Regions from separate parts of the Homo sapiens genome. Here region 2 is linked to region 1. The links are contacts of gene promoters, found by promoter capture Hi-C in human tissues and cell types (Jung and others, 2019). All regions are on one chromosome and are shown on one strand. Each heading gives the region's core, a stretch centred on a gene start or on the middle of the fragment in contact. The rest is flanking DNA. Distances are from core to core; before and after follow the strand shown.

Region 1 (2,819 bases), core at 199-2,698:
GCTTCTCGTGCCACACAAAGGAGATGTGTGGGCAGGAGTTGTCTAGCTGACAGGGAGGGAGGCAAGGTTCTCCCTGACTCCCAGGGAACACGCTCCCCCACTTCTTTCCGTCCTCCAGTCTTTCATGTTCCTTCGTCCCCTCCATCCCCCCAAACCCCACCCTTTCCCTTCAATCCCAATCACATAAAAATCTTCTAATTGTATTTTTTCAAACAGACATCGAGACATTGATACAACACCTTCCAAGATAAAGAGACAAGTGCGTCCTGCCACAAGTGTGTGTGAGTGTGTGTGTGTGTGTGTCACGATCAAACACGCGCTTCATCCCTCAGACACCTCTGGGAAAAAAGCTGACTGGAGATACCCAAGATAATAACGAGGAGCTAAACCTAATTTCAGCGGAACCAATGGTCCCAGCACCAGCGCCCAACATTTACCTTTCCTTTTCGCAGTATGTAACCCTTTAAGGTCTCTTGCCAGCTCAAGCTACTCGGTGCTCCCATGCACCCGCCCAGTTAGCACCCCATTTCCAAATGCTCTGCAACCTACCACATCTTCGCCGCCTCCCTCGGCCACCGCACAAGCAGCTCCCCGCGAGCGCCGAAGCCTCCCGCCCTGCCACCCCCGCCCCCGGCCGGCCTCTGGGGTCCCACACCTCGCGCGCCTACGGTCGCCGCGGCCGGGCCCCCGCAGCACCCTCCGCCACGGAGCGAGCGTGCCTTACTCACATCGCCGGCGGGAGAAACTGCCCATGAGGTTTCGGAGAGCGTAGTCGTGCAGCTGCCAAGGGTTATTCCTTAAGTGTTCAGGGGTCCGCAGTGGAGTGGGCGCCAGGGTCTTCGGAGGAGAAGAGGAGGGAAGGAGTAGAAGGTAGGAAGAACAGGAGATAGAGGGGAATCCAGGAAGGTGCCACGTTAGACCATGATGCCAGTGCCCTTCAGGTGGACGGCTGGAGAGGTTCCCGCGGGAAGCGGCTGAGGGGAAGCCCGAAGCGCCGGCGGGGGAGGCAGGAGCGCGTCCACTCCCCAGCCTCAGCCTGCCCAGCGCGCCGCGCTAGCGACCGCAGCAGCAGCGGCGGCGGCGGCGGCGGTGGCGGAGGCGCAGCTCCCTCCCCGCCCCCAGAAGGCTCCACAGACAATAAATCCTGGGCGGAGAAGAGACAAGCAGGAAAGGCGAATCCTGCACCCAACTCCGTAACAACCCCTGCCCGTTGCCGCGCCTGTGCAGGGCGAGGATCCCCAGGGGCCAGGGCGCAGCGGGCGTCTCGGAGGGGCTGAGCGCTCCGCAACTGCAGGAGGCGGTGGCGGTGGCCCGAGTGGGCGGCTGCAGGTCCCGCCGGCGAGAACCCGCTGCACTGGGGCTGGGTGTCCGTGGCTTCAAGCCCGGTGTTCACCCGGAGTAGGGTCCTCCTCGGTGCAGTGGCTCGGCGCACAGGTGCCAGGATTGGCAGGCGAGGAGGCGCCGCTCATGGCTCTTGGCTGTGTCTCACCGCTCTCCCCGCCCCCTCTCTTTTTTCCCACCCCCTTTTCCGACGACACCAGCTGCAGCTGCTTCAAAGTGTGAAAAATGTCAAGGAGATTTTCCAATGATAGGAGGGGGTAACCATGTTCACAACCCTCGGTCTCTTTTTGAGATCCTCGCCTGTCCCTCTGACCTCTACTCCGGCTCCCCCAAATTATGAGAAGAAAAATCCCAGTCCTGCACAGGATTGAAACGCTAGCCTTCTCCCGGCTCCGTCACGATAGGCTGCTTTTCGAGAACGGGACGAGAGGCCGAGCTCTCTGGGTTCCTCTCGCCTCCGTGGTGTTCGAGGCAGGTGGCACGAATCTCAGCGCGGGGCGGAGCGCGGCTGCCGGCTCCTCCCGCTCGCGGGCCAGCCCCGGGCGCTCGGGCAGCGCGGCGCGGCTTTCTGCAGCGCGGCCGCCTGAGCGGCAGAAGCGGCTCCCGGCCTGTGCGCCTGCCTGAGCGCCCCTGCACCCGCACTAGCTCAGTGACGCTGAGCTCGTGGCTCCTCAGGCTGCTGCTCCTGCTATCTCAGCAAAGAGGCGGCCGGGAGCGCCTCCTCGGGGTTTCCTCCCCCGCCCGCCTTGCCTGCTGCAGGTTGTTGGCTGCCAAGGAGAAAAGTCTCCGCTTGTGCGTCAGGTCGCTTCACATCAGTCATGGCAGCGAACCTTGTGCCTGCTCTTAAGTCCTCTCCTCATTCTGGGGTTGCGGCTGCTGCCCTGGGAGTGCACAAAAAGGGAAGGGTTTTCCCAACTTCCCTTCATATATTCACCGCCCCTCCTCCTGCCATGAACATTCTCTCTGACACACACACACACACACACACACACACACACACACACACACACTCTCTCTCTCTCTCTCATATGCTCCCTTACGTAAAGGCACACACACTTTCTTCTTATACGCTTCTCTAAAGTCCCAGAAGCAGCAAGACATATCAATGAAGCTAGTACTATATTTACACTTTTTTTTTTTTTTTTTGAAACGGAGTTTCGCTCTTGTTGACCAGGCTGGAGTACAATGGCGCGATCTCGGCTCACTGCAACCTCTTCCTCCCCGGTTCAAGCGATCTTCCTGCCTCAGCCTCCCGAGTAGCTGGGATTACAGGCGCGTGCCACCACGCCCGGATGATTTTTTTTGTATTTTTAGTAGAGACGGGGGTTTCACCATGTTGCCCAGGCTGGTCTCGAATTCCTGACCTCAGGTGATCCACCTGTCTCGGCCTCCCAAAATGCTGGGATTATAGACGTGAGCCACCGTTCCCAGCCTATATTTACACTTTTATTCTCTACACACATCTAATGAATTACATC
Region 2 (2,782 bases), core at 241-2,740, 1.0 Mb after region 1:
TGTATTGAACTCACATTTCTCTTAAGCAAATTCTGAAAACCAGGTTGGCTCAATAATTTAAATGGTAACTACAAACTTTACACAATAAATTTATTTAAATAATTTAAACTGCTATTATTATGGCTGATTCTTCACTTTCCTTTAAACAGTAAACAAATATACACAGATCAAAACATAAAAATCTCAACTTTGTTCAGTATACTTAATGGATATAAATTGTCAACACCACAGATATAATTTGTTTACTATTTTCATACCTTCCAGAGTTATTGCTTTATTTATATTGCTATTTTCTTAGGATTTCTGAAGCATTTTGATTCCTTCCCAAAGAGTAATCATACCGGGTTTTAGGATCCAGTTGGGACATATAACCTGTTTGCTTAGTATAAGTGATTCAAATGAACTACTGATCATTAGATAGAGGCCATTTCTAAAGTGAAGATTTACTTGTTAAGACATGAATTTTAAAATTTCTGTCAGTTGGTGTTAATTATCAGAACTTAGTAGCTTTCCCAAAATGATGGATTCTTTTAATTTTGCATGGCTGATAGACCCTAACTCATTGTCTTTTTATTATGATATATCAGTATGGTCATTTTGTATTTTCAATGCATGCACTTACTATGAATGTTTTATCATAATTGCCAGAACCACGTATACATTTCATCTCATAAGACATAAGGAATTAATCTGCATAGTTAGCTCTCCTAGTCAGGCTATTTGGCTAACTTTTCATTTTGGAACATCATGCTGAACTTTCTTTACAATAAGGAGTCTTCAACCCATTAATATAGTACTGTTTATCTTTTTCTATATTCAGGTATTATTTAATAATGTCTTTTAATAAGGTCTTGGATTTTTCTCCATAGTAATCTTAAACTTTTTTATTATATTCAAAACACTGTTGCTATTGTAAATGATATATCCTTAAACTACATTTTCTAATTAGTTGTGGTGAGATATAAAAACAAAATTGACTTAATATCAATATTCTAACTTGAAGCCTTATAAAACATTAATTTTAATAATTTATCTCTAGATTTATTTTTTTACATAGATAATAATATTGGCTACAAGAATTTAGTTTTTCTCCTGTGTATTCCAAATGTTATTCTTCTTATTGAAATGACTGGTAGCTAGTTAAATGTTAAATTAAAGTGGTGATATCAGGCATCCAAGTCTTGTTCTTGATTTTTACAAAATTATCTTAGAAGTGATGTTTGGTGTAAATTTTTGTAGATACCTTTATTAGGATAAGGAAGCTCTCATCTATAATTTGCTTTCTAAGAGGTTTTTAGACTATTGATTTAGTGTTTAATTTTTTATTATATTTTATATTTTGAGATGATTACATCATTCTTGCTCTTTAAATTATTCGAGTAAAATACTTTGATTTTCTAATTCTGAAGCTCTACTAAATTCCTAGAATAAATCCAATTCAATGATGATGGATTACCTTTCGATAAATTCTATTCACTAATATTTGTTTATGTTTGCACATTTCTACGTGAAATGGGCCTAAAATTTTTTCTCATTTTTTTTTTCATTTGGTTTTGGTATCAAGGTCTTACCAATCTCATAATATCAGTTGAGAAATGTTAGATGTGCCAATTATGCCAAATGTAGATGTGCCAATTGTTTTATACATATTTAAAACTAGATATTAAGTGCATGTAAGTCGAGTACCGTATTTTCATAGGGAAGAAAAACTGTTATCAAGGTATGCTGATTTTTTTTTCATAATGCTCTGTCTTAAATTCTGTTTTGTCTGATATTTAAGTAGCAGGCTGTTTATTTGAAAGGTTTGGATCAAAGTAAAATAGATAAGAAATTCCAAAGCAAAAGGCATACCAACATCTAGATTTTCAAATGATGCACTGAGAACTAGTTTTACATATCTAAAGTCATTTGCATACAAAGAGTATCAAAACATATCAAGAGTGACAAGTAGGTATGATTTAATAAGGATGATTTTGAAGTTATTCAGTACACTGCTAGGAATCCACTCCCCTCATCTCACATTAGCCACCACAGGCGAAAAAAAAATATGTTGGAAACAGTTCTTCATGAATATTTCATGTTTCTACATTCATAGATATTAACAACCTATTCACTTCATTACTAATTTTTCAGAAATATTTTCAAGTGGCCCTGAAAGAAAAGAAACAGAGATTCACTCTGGAACAAATTTATTTACATTTATGAATAATAAAGAGAGACATCTTTCCTAGAGACATCACAGGATAATAGAGATGCCTCCCTCCTCTCCCCAGAGATTTTTGCTCACAGTCTAGGGTAATATAGATAATGTTTCTCTCCAGAGAGGATATGGAGTTTGTGGGTTTGTTAGCAGTCCCTTATAAGACTGGGTTTACCGAAGATCAGTGTTCCTCAGTTTTGATGCAGACCCACTGTGGATGCGGAATCTACCTGGATCCACATCCAGATAACCCCCTGGGGACTTGAAAGAAAAGGAAAACTCATGCGAACATGAAGGTCATTCTAGCTGCTGTGCTGTAAATAACAAACTCTGAATCTTTTCGGATTCATTGTGTGCTTGTCAGCCAAAACTATAGAAGTCTAGCAAGACAAGCTGGCATCTGTCATCACACTGCTGTTTTGAAACTATTTGAGAGGAATTTCATGTCTGCTAAAGCTAAAGAAGGCTACGGAAGCTTTAGTAACTTGTCCTCTACAAAAGATACCTAAGTCCCAGAGATCATACATGAAAATGATGATTGGAATATCAGTATGAGATCATTTTCAAAGACTCCTAGCCAAG

Evidence for each region. The method cuts DNA at HindIII sites, captures the fragments that hold promoters and counts their contacts. A contact is called where the count stands out against the background at its distance.
Region 2: a contact is called between a fragment that was not itself captured here and the fragment with the promoter of LRRC7 in region 1, in 1 of the 25 tissues and cell types used here (dorsolateral prefrontal cortex).

What each region holds. Positions count from the first base shown.
Region 1 is chr1:69,566,551-69,569,369 of GRCh38, reverse strand. LRRC7 (leucine rich repeat containing 7) reads right to left here and starts at 1,448. Exons shown (of 27, transcript NM_001370785.2): 1 at 729-1,448. The coding sequence starts at 730. RefSeq lists a silencer at 1,795-2,024. The HindIII fragment of the contact is 6,759 bases long and covers 1-2,819 here.
Region 2 is chr1:68,565,763-68,568,544 of GRCh38, reverse strand. No RefSeq gene overlaps it. Among named protein-coding and RNA genes, the nearest start is that of DEPDC1, 70 kb to the right of the region's middle. The HindIII fragment of the contact is 3,377 bases long and covers 1-2,782 here.